Regions from separate parts of the Homo sapiens genome. Here all the other regions are linked to region 2. Evidence: promoter capture Hi-C in human tissues and cell types (Jung and others, 2019). All regions are on one chromosome and are shown on one strand. Each heading gives the region's core, a stretch centred on a gene start or on the middle of the fragment in contact. The rest is flanking DNA. Distances are from core to core; before and after follow the strand shown. Region 1 overlaps TTLL12 (tubulin tyrosine ligase like 12). Region 2 holds the start of BIK (BCL2 interacting killer). Region 3 overlaps TTLL1 (TTL family tubulin polyglutamylase complex subunit L1).

What was found. Contacts are between HindIII fragments. The study calls those that stand out against the background at their distance.
Region 1: a fragment that was not itself captured here is called in contact with the fragment with the promoter of BIK in region 2 in 3 of the 25 tissues and cell types used here (liver, mesenchymal stem cells and thymus).
Region 3: a fragment that was not itself captured here is called in contact with the fragment with the promoter of BIK in region 2 in 2 of the 25 tissues and cell types used here (liver and mesenchymal stem cells).

The regions. Positions count from the first base shown.
Region 1 is chr22:43,167,336-43,171,191 of GRCh38, forward strand. It overlaps TTLL12 (tubulin tyrosine ligase like 12), which reads right to left. Exons shown (of 14, transcript NM_015140.4): 12 at 2,165-2,233; 13 at 1,439-1,577; 14 at 1-824. The coding sequence ends at 673. Among named protein-coding and RNA genes, the nearest start is that of TSPO, 18 kb to the left of the region's middle. RefSeq lists enhancers at 873-1,729, 1,730-2,585. The HindIII fragment of the contact is 9,757 bases long and covers 1-3,856 here.
Region 2 is chr22:43,108,212-43,112,533 of GRCh38, forward strand. BIK (BCL2 interacting killer) reads left to right here and starts at 2,539. Exons shown (of 5, transcript NM_001197.5): 1 at 2,539-2,592. RefSeq lists silencers at 2,489-2,658, 3,189-3,408 and an enhancer at 2,606-3,164. The HindIII fragment of the contact is 22,290 bases long and covers 2,053-4,322 here.
Region 3 is chr22:43,071,556-43,075,747 of GRCh38, forward strand. TTLL1 (TTL family tubulin polyglutamylase complex subunit L1) reads right to left here. Exons shown (of 11, transcript NM_012263.5): 3 at 3,919-4,035. The coding sequence starts at 4,031. Among named protein-coding and RNA genes, the nearest start is that of TTLL1, 16 kb to the right of the region's middle. The HindIII fragment of the contact is 8,863 bases long and covers 1-4,192 here.

The DNA of each region.
Region 1 (3,856 bases), core at 1,262-3,761, 59 kb after region 2:
GGAAACGGTAACAAGACGGTGGCCTCCTGCCAGGACCTCAGCAGGAGGTTTGCTGGTGAAGGTTCTGGGTGAGCTGGAATGGGTGATAAGGCGGGCTTGCTGGGTGGTGGCCTCAGGCTGTTCCTGGGCCCCTGTCGCATAGAGCCCTGTGGGTGCAGTGTGGGGCCCCACAGCCGTCCCGGGGTCGTCCTGATGCATAAGAGCAGAGACCCCGGAAGAGAAACCCGCCTGCCCCGTGTGATACAGGGCTCCCAAACGCTTCCCGGTGGAACCCTGCTCCCGAGGACACCTTGTCTCGCTCCACGGAACCCTTCCCCCAGCACCCCCTGGAAACACAGCAGCCAGGAACAAATTCTCCATGCCAGGAACAAAGCCCTTGGCTAAACTGGAGACTCATCAGTGCACAGATGGTGGTGAGGGGTGAGGGCAGGGCGTGGGGTGGTGCTCAGCCCTGGGGACACCATCACTGTCCTGCTCTGACCCACAGGTGAGAGGAGGATGCTGTGCTCCCGGAGTGTGGCGCCGGGAGGATGGCTCGGCAGGACAGAGGCCTGGGGCTGAGGCTATGCCCAGGGCCGGTGTGGGGAGGGACATGGGGGCCTTTGCAGAAGCAGCTCAGAGAACTGAGGTTGGAATCCTGCCCCAAGCACAGGTTTTGGGGACAGCGAGTGCCTAGACAAGGCAGGTAACGTGGCAGCCACCGGGCTGGTCCAGAAACAAGGTGCTGAAGACGTCGTTGAAGAAGGTGGGGTGGTACCTGCAGGCTCGCTCACAGTCGGGGTTGAAGTTCACCTCCAGGATCTGCGGCTGCATCACCCGCCTTCCTGATGGCAAAGAGCGCAGCAGAGTGTGAAGGCTCGTTGGCCTCCACTCTGCAGGGACAGTGGCCTGGGGATCCAGCAAAGGCTGGGAGGCCATGAACCTGGGCCCTGATTCCCAGGGGATGAGCAGGACAAGGCCGGGCCTAGAACTTGGGTCTCTTGACTTTGCTGGGGAGGCCTGGCCTGACATCTGCTTCTCTAGGAGAGGCCAGGGCTGCCTCCAGCCCTAGGGATGACAGCCTGGCCCTTTAAGCTTGGATGTTCAGTTTAGTAAAAAAAAAAAAAAGTAGATATGCAGCAGCAGTGTACTGTGTGGGGGTCTGGCACAGGGAAGGCCAGCCAGGGTGGTGTGGGTTGGGGTCAGGGTGCCTTTCACACGGGTCTCCTGTCCTGTGAGCTCTCCCCCGACTCAGAGGCCCAACCCGCAGCCTTTCCCCTCCAGACTCTGCACCGCAGGCACTTCCTGTGGGCCAAGCCAGGGCTTTCCCCAACCCAGATTCCTGGCTGATTCAAGCCAGAGGACAGCCTGGGGCAGCTGCCTGCCTTCTCCAGGCTGTGGCTGGCTGGCGGAGGGGGCGCCTGCTGGTTTGGATCAGGAGATGGGGAGCCCCTCTTACCATCTGGGCCGTTGTCCCACTTCAGCATGAGGTCGACGGCATACATGGCCCGGGATGAGGGGTAGTCGCAGAGGCCCAGGGGTGGTGGCTTGGCACAGGCCACCTGGAACAGCTCCGTGAAGGCCCGGAAGATCTCAGCCTGGGGACCGGGGAGCCTGAGTTACGAGGCCTGCTCAGAACAGCCTCTCAAGAGGGGGTCTGCTGCCCCTGCCCAAGTCCCGGGCCCCACGTGGCCCAAGTCACCCCCTCCCACATCTTCACGTCTCTAGACCTCACCATGGCCACCTCCGCCCAGCACCTGCCCTCTTACTCCTGACGCCCACCTTCTGCAAATCTGCCCATCTCCTGCCGCAGACCCCGTTGCTCCCCACTGCCCCAAGGAGCTCAACACAGCACCCAGAATGCCGCTGCTGGACATGGAGGCCCAGCCAACGTCTCCATATGACTGGGAATCTAGGGTCAGGCAGTGCCGCCACCCTCTGGCTGTCCCAGGGGTGCCCCACATGCCCCTCCAGCTCCCTCCCTCTCAGGAGCACCCACAAATGCCCAGGGTGGAAGGGAGGGGAGCCCACGCTGTCTTGCCAGCCTCTGGGGAGAATGACCAACTGCAGGGGACAAAGGTCCCTCCCAGCCCATGCCAGCAGAGAGGGAAGGGAGCAGCTCCTGCAGGCCCCCAGCCCGGGACCCGCCCCACCGGCCTGCGATGGTGTGCAGGACAGGAATTACCTGGACGTCCGTCCAGGGAAATTCTGGGTATTGCTTCTCAAACTCGGGGATGAACTCTTCACAGTGCACCTGCAACAGACACAGGGCCCATCACGCTCTGTACAGGCCTCCGCTGGGCCGGGAGCAGGCAGCCTGCTACTGCCTGGACCAGGAGCTTCTGACACTGGGTGGGGGTTCCAGGAGCAGGCAGCCAACCCCGAACCCTCAGGGTCCAAACAGGAGGCAGGAGATGGAGTCTGGGCTCCAGGTCTTACTGTGTGACTCTGGACCAACGGATTAACTTCTCTGAGCCTGTTTCCTCCTCTGTGAAATGGGAAAATGTGCTCTGCCCAGTAAACTGACTTTGCCACGCAGCTGTGAGGCTCACGCGAGACAATGAACATCGAGGGCTCCAGAAACTGCAGGGCCTGGGCTGGCACCATCCTCACACTCAGCTCAGTACAGTGCGAAGGAGGCAGAGCTCAAGACTCCGCCGCGGGACCTGCCTGTGCCCTGGTTCAGCACCAGCTCAAGAGTGCTTGAGGGATGCAAGATCTTTCTGGCCTCAAGACTTTACCCAAAACACACCCGAGGAAGGTGGCAGTCGGCTCAGGTTTCTCCCAGAAAAGAACAAGCCAGGAAAGGCCCCTATGGAAGCCCGCCATCCATGCCATGCTGGACGTACCTCCCCAGGCACAGAGCTCCAGGAGAGGACTCCCGGGATGACCCCCACAGTACAGAAGGGAGGGGCTCAGAACCTGAGGGCGACTTCCAACAATGTCCTGGGGCCCTGCTGGGGGGTCTGGGTCCTAGGGAGTAGGCTTCAACACAGGCAAGGATAAGACAGACAGAAGCAACAGGACCACTCGGCCCCTGTGGGGAGTGTGTGCTGGTATAGTCACCAGTGCATGGCAGGGCCCTTTCTCCAAGTCCTCCTAGAGGACTCCTCGGACATGGGCATGGCCAGGTGCCTCCACGCATGTTCACGCGCCATGATTTATCATTAGTGAAGACCTCAGATGACCAATCGCCGCCACAGTTAGCAACAAGCCCGAACCTCAAAACCTCAAAACACGCCACTCAGCCAACAAAGCAAGCTGCAGAAGGATCCGTTGAATAAGATGATATTTACATAAAAACCTAAGTAGGAGGCCGGGCATGGTGGCTCACGCCTGTAATCCCAGCACTTTAGGAGGCTGAGGCAGGCGGAGCGCTTGAGTCCAGGAGTTTCAGACAAGCCTGGGCAACATGGCGAAACCCCGTCTCTACTAAAAATACAAAAAAATTAGCCGGGCGTGGAGGCACGTGCCCGTAGTCCCAGCTACTTTAGGGGGCTGAGGCAGAAGGATGGCTTGGGCCCAGGAGATTGAGGTTGCAGTGAGCCCAGATCATGCCTCCGCACTCCAGCCTGGGTGACAGCGTGAGACATTGTCTCTCAAAAAAACAAAACAAAACAAAAAACCTAAGTAAGCAAAACAGCAGCTTGAATGGTCAGGAACATACTCCTGCTGAAAAGAACCAAAGACATGCCTGGGAATGACAGCCACACGTTCAGGGGTCGGGGAGCGTTGGGGCTGGCTGCATGGGGAGTCCGCGGCACCTGCAAGGCTGGCGACAGGCAGGGTGGGGTAGGTGTTCTGTGCATCTGAAACACTCATTAACCAGCCAGGCCACAGAGGCCTTCCAGGACTTCCTTTCTTCCTTCCTGTACCC
Region 2 (4,322 bases), core at 1,289-3,788:
ATCTCCAAGACAGTTTCCTTCGTGAGCTTTTTTTTTTTTTTAGACAGAAGAATCTTGCTGTGTTGCCCAGGCTGGAGTGCAGTGGCACGATCTTGGCTCACTGCAATCAAGGCCTCCCAGGTTCAAGCAATTCTCTGCCTCAGCCTCCCAAGTAGCTGGGACTACAGGTGAGTGCCATCACACCCGCTACTTTTTTTTTTTTTTTTTTGAGACAGAGTTTCACTCTTGTTGCCCAGGCTGGAGTATAATGGCGTGGTCTCAGCTCACTGCAACCTCTGCCTCCCTAATTCTCCTGCCTCAACCTTCTCGAGTAGCTGGGATTACAGGCATGTGCCACCCCGCCCAGCTAATTTTGTATTTTTAGTAGAGATGGGGTTTCTCCATGTTGGTCAGGCTGGTCTCAAACTCCTGACCTCAGATGAGCCGCCTGCCTTGTCCTCCCAAAGTGCTGAGATTACAGGCGCAAGCCACCGCGCCTGGCCTAGTTTTTTAATTTTTAGTAGAGATGGAGTTTCGTCATGTTGGCCAGGCTGGTCTCAAACACCTGACCTCAGGTGATCCACCTGCCTTGGCCTCCCAAAGTGCTGGGGTTATAGGCGTGAGCCACCATGCCCAGCCATCTCTTCCTCCTTTTGATCAGCATATTGTCTTGGGATTTTGCAAAGTAAATAAGTACTGTATTTGCACCCACTCTGCCCTTGAATCATCCAGTGTCCCCAAACGGTCCTTCTTTCTCCATCTTTTCTGCTAATGTTTACTGAACATCTCCTACATACCTGGCACTGTGCCTCCAGCCTTAAGACCCCTCTGCAAGCATCTCACATATATCAGGTCTTTCGGACCCATGAGACCCCGTGTCATTGCTTTACCTCCCTGAGTCTCAATTTTTTCATCTGCAAAATGCATTCAGAGGGAAGCCCCCATTATGAAGGGTTCCCTGCTCCTGACTGTAAGGCACTCTGTGGCTGTTAGCCACAGTCAGGGCGAGCTGCTTTGTAGGGGTTGATGTAGTTTGGAGGCCCTAGAAGAAAAGACTACAGGGCCGGGAGTGGTGGCTCACGCCTGTAATCCCAGCACTTTGGGAGCCCGAGGCCGGTGGATCACCTGGTGTCAGGAGTTCAAGACCAGCCTGGCCAATATGGCAAAACCCCGTCTCTACTAAAAATACAAAAACTAGCCGGGCATGGTGGCACACGCCTGTAATCCAGCTACTAGGGGGGCTGAGGCGGGAGGATTGCTTCAACCTGGGAGACAGACGTTGCAGTGAGCCAAGATTGTGCCACTGCACTCCAGCCTGGGCAACAGGGCTAGACTCTGTCTCAAAAAAACAAAAACAAAAACAAACAAAAAAACCCCACAAAAGCAAAGAAGGTCCAGAGCCCGGAAGGCGGGAGGGGCTCTGAAGACTTTATCACACTTTACCTCCTCTGTTCCTCCCAACAGCCCAGCTCTTGGTAGGTGCTGTTGTCCATTTCACAGATGAGAACATTGAAGGGGAAGTAATTACCCTAGAGGTGGGAAGAACAGAGTGAGGGTACCCAACAGGTAGCAAACGACAGAGCTGGGGGAGGGGAACCCCTGTCCCTGCCCCTCCCCTAATCTCTGAGGGGATCAAGACAGAAGTAAACAAGCTTTGCCGTGCCCAGGACAATTGTTACTTTGTTATTCCAGGAGCGCTCTGCCTTCTCCCACCCCCAATATACCCCAGGGCTGGAGTTAGGTCCTACCCATCCCCGCGTAGCAGGCTGCCCACCCGCCCACCCCGCCTGGAAGCTTTCTGATTTCTCTGTTCGCCCCGCCAGGCGCTGTGGGGTCCGTCTCACCAGGTCTGCACGTGAGCCCCCTGCCCCCAATCCCTCCCAGTCCCGCCCGCCTCTCGCGGACCCGGAGCCCCGACGGGAGGGGGAAGGCAGTGGGTGTGTCATGCAGCTGGAAGGCTGCGGACGGGCGGCAGTGGAGGGGCAGCCCCCTGGCTTCGGGTATGGATCACTGGATGCTGCTGCTAACCAAATGTGAACCTCGGTTTTCATATTTGTGAAATAGGCTTTAAAACACCTAAATCCCAAAGCTGCCAGCCTAAGGAGCACACGTCTTTGAACGCTGGCTTCACGCTGTCATTTAAGTCATTTCGTCCTCTTGGAGCCTCGGTTTCCACGTGGGTAAAATGATCGTGAAAAAAAGCACCGAGGAGTACTTTGAGCTCGAACGGAGGCCATCCGTGTAAAGGGCCAGATTCTGTCAATGGATCGATCCCCCCGATATTGATGGAAACCCCTGAGTGCACGCCCGTGCTGGGCGCAGGGGAAACAGCGACGCACGGGACAAAACAAGCTTGCAGAACAGCAGGGGGCAGAGAGGCTGTAAACAAGCCAACGGGCTGCACTTGTAGCGGTTCTGTTGCCAATGCCATTCAGACCCCAGTCCGGGATTCCGCGCTCGGGGTGCGAGAGGCCGCTCCCGGGGAGGGGCGGGACCCGGGCGGGGCGGGAGGGGCGGGGCGCCCGGGCCTATTAGGTCCCGCGCCGGCAGCCGGGCCGCAGACACGAAGCCTCCCGGGTGGCTTACAGACGCTGCCAGCATCGCCGCCGCCAGGTGAGTGCCCCCGACCCTGCTGCCGCCCGCTGCTCCGCCCAGCTCGAGCCCGGCGGTTAGCGCCCAGGCCGCGGCCCGGGTGCCGAGCGGCTGGAAGTGTGGGGAGCCGTGCCCAGGTTTTACCGCTCCAGCAAGTCGCTGGCGGGGCGACGTCTCGGGACTCCGGCTCCGAAACGTACCCTCTCTGTCCGGGGCTCCAGGTCCCCGACGGGCGATCGTGCCAGGCGCGGCCCCTGCGGGCCTCAGTCTCCGCGCCTGTGCAATGGGGTGGTCCCTCTGCGTCTCGCCGCGACGGCTGGACGCCCCATCGCCGCCGCACAGTCCTCCAGTGCGGCTTCCGGGCACCCGGCTCCGAACTCTGGGGTCGTGCGGACCCGGCCAGACCGTAGCGCGGCAACGCCAGCCCACGGCCGCGGCCGCACAGCCCCGGTGCCCTTAAAAGAGGGAAGATGGCGTCGTGCCCGGTGCCGCCGGGACCGGCTCCCGGAGGCGCTGCGCACCTGAGGAAGGGCCGAGGAAAGGCTTCGTAACGGGACGCCCAGAAAGTCCGGAACAGGAACGTGCACACGGAGCGGCGCGCAGCCGCCCGCCCTCGCTTGCCCACGCGCCCTGCACAGGTGCGCCCCAGACTGGGCGGGGACTAGAGCCCGGCTGGGGCATGCGACCTTGTTTGGTAAATTGGAGGTGCGCCCCTGCGGGTGACCCGCGAGGGGGCCCCCCGCCTGCGGGGCGCGGTCACGACAAGGCTTGTGGGGTTCGGAGCTGGTCGTCGTCTGGGCTCTGGCCTCCTAAATGCGATCGCTTTCAAGCCCTTCATTGTCAATTTTGCTAGAATGAGCCACTCGTGGGGTAGGACGTGGTTGTTGATGTTACTGTTGTAGCTCTTACTATTGTAACATTTTTGTTGCTGTTTTAACGCAGTGTTTACTGTGGTCTGGGAGCCCGAGCTTCCCAGGGAGCATTGGTGTCAGCCTCATGTCCCCGCATTAGGAGGAGCGCAGTCTGGTGGGCACTAGCGCCGGGAAGTTCTTAACATCTGTCTGCCCCTGGGAGCAGGAGGCCTCATCTTCCAGGTGGAGAAACAGAGATTTCAGTCCCAGGAGGCACAGAAATGCCAGGGTTGTCTAGCTAGAAGCCAAGGGCCCTTTATGGAACCCAAGCCAAAACCTCTTTCCACTCTCCAGCCCTGTGGCCTCGGAAGGGCCACTCCATCTCTCTGAACCTCAGTTTGTTCTGTTCACTCTGCAAAATGTATCCCTGAGGTTTCTGGCCAGGTGAAAGCCCCTCTCAAGTTAGTAGCCTCCCTGGAGTTAAGACTCACCCCGATTTCTACTTAATTTGGGCACGCCTTTGGAATAAGTTCTCAGGAATGGCACAGTTTGGGTGTTTTTTGTTTCTTTTTGTTTTTTTTTGAAACAGAGCTTCGCTCTTGTTGCCCAGGCTGGAGTGCAATGGCGCCGTCTCGGCTAACTGCAACCTCGGCCTCCTGGGTTCAAACGGTTCTCCTGCCTCAGCCTCCTAGTAGCTGGGATTACAGGCGCCTACCACGAGGCCCAGCTAATTTTTTGTATTTTTAGTAGAGATGGGGTTTCACCATGTTGGCCAAGCTAGTCTCGAACTCCTGACCTCAGGCGATCCACCCGCCTCAGCCTCCCAAAGTGCTGGGATTACAGGTGTGACCCACCCCGCCCGGCTTGAGTGTTTAAATACTCCTGCCTCAGCCTCCCAAG
Region 3 (4,192 bases), core at 798-3,297, 37 kb before region 2:
TGAACCACCACACACCGCTAATTGTTATATTTTTAGTAGAGACGGGGTTTTGCCACGTTGGCCAGGCTGGTCTCAAACTCCTGACCTCAGGTGATCTGCCCGACTTGGCTTCCCACAGTGCTAGGATTGCAGGCGTGAGCCACCATGCCGGCCTATAATCCAGCACTTTGGAAGGCTGAGAATTGGGGCAGGGCTCAGCTGAGCAATTCTACTTCTCCTTGTGGCACTGACTGAGGTCATTCAGAAGTGTAGAGCCAGCCGATGGGATGAGCTGGGGGTCCCAGAAGGCTTTCTTCATGTCTAACACCTTGGCAGGCCTAGCTGGAGGCTGGAAGGTGGGCACAGCTGCACTGCCATGTACAACACCTACCTGTGGCCGCTGTGGCACGAGGGCTTCAGGATGGCACCTTCTCACAGGACAGCTCAGGGCACCCACATGTTTCCAACAGAGGAATTGGCCTGGGCCCAGGCATGTATGATTTTTACTGTATTCCACTGGTCAATGTGGTCAAAGAGTCTTTCACGAGGAAAGGACAAAGACCTCAACTTTAGAGTGAAGTAGTGGCAAGAACTTCGCAACCATCTTTATTTTCTTTTTCTTTTTTTTTTTTTTTTTGAGACGGAGTCTTGCTCTGTCGCCCAGGCTGGAGTGTAGTGGCGTGACCTCGGCTCACTGCAATCTCCGCCTCCCGGGTTCACGCCATTCTCCTGTCTCAGCCTCCCGAGTAGCTGGGACTACCGGCACTCGCCACCACGCCCGGATAATTTTTTTGTATTTTTAGTAGAGATGAGGTTTCACTGTGTTAGCCTGGATAGTCTCGATCTCCTGACCTTGTGATCCGCCCATCTCGGCCTCCCAAAGTGCTGGGATTACAGGCGTGAGCCACCGCGCCTGGCCACCATCTTTATTTTCTCTCTTTCTTTCTTTCTTTTAGAGACAAGGTCTCACTCTGTTGCCCAGGCTGGAGTGCAGTAGCACAATCAAGGCTCACTGTAGTCTTGACCTCCTGGGCTCAAGCAAGCCTCCCACCTCAGCCTCTCAAGTAGCTGGGGCTACAGGCACGAACCACTATGCCTGGATAATTTTTGTATTTGTTTGTAGAGATGAGGTTTCACCATTTGCACAGGCTGGTGTCAAACTCCTGGGCTCAAGAGATCTGTCTGCCTCCACCTCCCAAAAGGCTGGGATTACAGGCATGAGTCACTGCACCCAGGCACCCCACCACCCAGCTAATTTTTTTGAGACAGGGTCTCAGTATACTGCCCAGGCTGGTCTCAAACTCCTCGCAAGGTGCTGGGATTACAGGCATGAGCCACTGTGCCCAAGAGTTCTATGCCCTGGCCTGTGGCCATCTTTAATCTGCCACAAATTGGGTATGTGGCTTTTGGGGTATTTTTCTGTTTGCAGTTGTATGAACTTATAAATTCAAATACATATGATAAGTTTCAATTCATTGCAATTATTCTTTTTTTTTTTTTGAGACAGTCTTGCTGTGTCGCCCAGGCTGGAGTGCAGTGGTGCGATCTTAGCTAACTGCAACCTCCGCCTCCTGGGTTCAAGCAATTCTCCCTGCCTCAGCCTCTCAAGTAGCTGGGATTACAGGCGCCTGCCACTAAGCCCAGCTAATTTTTGTATTTTTAGTAGAGACAGGGTTTCACCATGTTGGCCATGGTTGGCCAGGCTGGTCTCAAACTCCTGACCTCAGGTGATCCACCTGCCTGGGCATCCCAAGGTGCTGAGATTATAGGTGTGAGCCACTGCGCCCGGTCTATTTATTTATTTATTTATTTATTTATTTATTTATTTATTTTATTTTTTGAGGTACAGTCTCACTCTGTCACCCAGGCTGGAGTGCAGTGGTGTGATTTCAGCTCACTGCAACCTCTGCCTCCCAGGTTGAGGCCATTTGCCTGCCTCAGCCTCCCGGGCAGCTAGGATTACAGGTGCGCACCACCACACCCAGATAATTTTTGTATTTTTGTAGTGATGGGGTTTCACCAAGTTGGCTAGGCTGGTCTCCAACTCCTGACCTCAGGTGATGCACCCGCCTTGGCCTCCCAAAGTGCTGGGATTACAGGCATGAGCCGCTGTGCCCAGCCCATCATAATTATTTTAACGGCTGCACCATAATCCACTCAAAGTACTTAACCCACCCCCCCATACTGTTTAACATTTAGTTGTTTCCAGTATTTTACCCCAACCAATTTTTCTGTAAACCTGATTGTACATTTAGTGCTTAGAACAGAAGCTCTTCTTTTTTATTTATTTATTTATTTATTTTTTTTGAGACAGAGTCTCACTGTCACCCAGGTTGGAGTGCAGTGGCGCGATCTCAGCTCACTGCAACCTCCACCTCCTGGGTTCAAGCGATTCTCCTGCTTCAATCTCCCGAGTTCCTGGGATTACAGGCAGGCACCACCACACCCAGCTAGTTTTTTTGTATTTTTAGTAGAGACAAGGTTTTGTCATGTTGGTCATGCTGGTCTCCAACTCCTGGCCTCAAGTGATCCACCGGCCTTGGCCTCCCACAGTGCTGGGATTACGGGCATGACGGCCAGAACAAGAGCTCTCAAAATATCAATTAGCTTGGCCAGGCACAGTGGCTCACGCCTGTAATCCTAGCACTTTGGGAGGCCAAGGCGGGCGGATCACCTGAGGTCGGGAGTTCGAGACCAGCCTGACCAACATGGAGAAACCCCCGTCTCTACTAAAAATACAAAATAAGCCAGGCGTGGTGGCACATGCTTGTAATCCCAGCTACTAGGGAGGCTAAGGCAGGAGAATCGCTTGAACCCAGGAGGTGGAGGTTGCAATGAGCCGAGATTGCCCCATGGCACTCCAGTCTGGGTGACAGGAGCGAAATTTCGTCTCAAAAAAAAAAAAAAAAAAAGAAAGAAAGAAAGAAAAAAAAATATATGTATCAATTAGCCAAGACTATTACACTGTTTAGCCTTTTTCTTCATTTCATTCCATTTTTTGCTGTTGTTGAGAATAGCTCCGAAGGCTGGGTACAGTGGCTCACGCCTGTAATCCCAACACTTTGGGAGGCTGAAGTGGGAAGATCACTTGAGTCCAGGAGTTTGAGACCAGCCTGGGCAACATGGGAAGACTCTGCCTCTGAAATAAATAAATAAATAAATAAACAGCAGCTTTATGACCAAAAAAGAAAAAAAGAATAACTCCAAACTGCTTCTTATTCATGGCCGGACATGGTGGCTCATGCCTGTAATCCCAGCACTTTGGGAGGCCGAGATGGGAAGGTCCCTTGAGGCCAGGAATTCAAGACCAGCCTAGGCAACATAGCAAGACCCTGTCTCTACAAAAAAAGAAAAAAATGTGGCCAGGCGCTTGGCTTAGACCTGTAATCCCAGCACTTTGGGAGGCCGAGGCGGGTGGATCACAAAGTTCAAGACCAGCCCGGCCAACATGGTGAAACCCCGTCTCTACTAAAAACACAAAAAAATTAGCCAGGTGTGGTGGCGCCTGTAATCCCAGGTACTTGGGAGCCTAAGGCAGGAGAATCGCTTGAACCCAGGAGGCAGAGATTGCAATGAGCTGAGATCGCACCATTGCACTCCAGCCTGGGTGACAGAGCAAGACTCTGTCCTGTCCTCTGGCCCAGCTATAACGCACGCTCACTGGAAGGGGAGGGCTGAGGCTCTTGTTTCTCACCCAAACTCCCCACAGGGTTGCTGTGCTGAAACACCCCGGACTTCATACCCCAGGGTGAACACAGTGATGTGGGAACACACCACAACACATACTCTCACAAAAAACCTTAAGGAAAAATGTGTGCGGGGAGATGGCACAATGACAGGAGACAGTGGCTCTGAGGCCACTCTCTGGGAGGCACTGGAATTAGTAAAACCGATACGTAAGCCTCAGAGAAACAACCCAGCCCTGCTGTGTATGCTTACCAGTAAAAATTCCAGTCCTCGTTTTCTGTCACTTGGACCCATCCTCTCTTTTCAAAGTTATTGATCAGCACTGACTTCTCGATATCAGTGACCCATTTTACTTTCCCTGCCATAATCCTGGAAGAGATCAAAATATTAGAGATATGAAACTTCAACAGCTCACTTCCCTTTAAACCCAAGGAATCCTCTAAACAGCATGCCCATCCCAAACTCGATCTTACCCCGGCAATGGTTCTCAACCAGGAGTGATTCCATCTCCCAGGGGACACCTGGC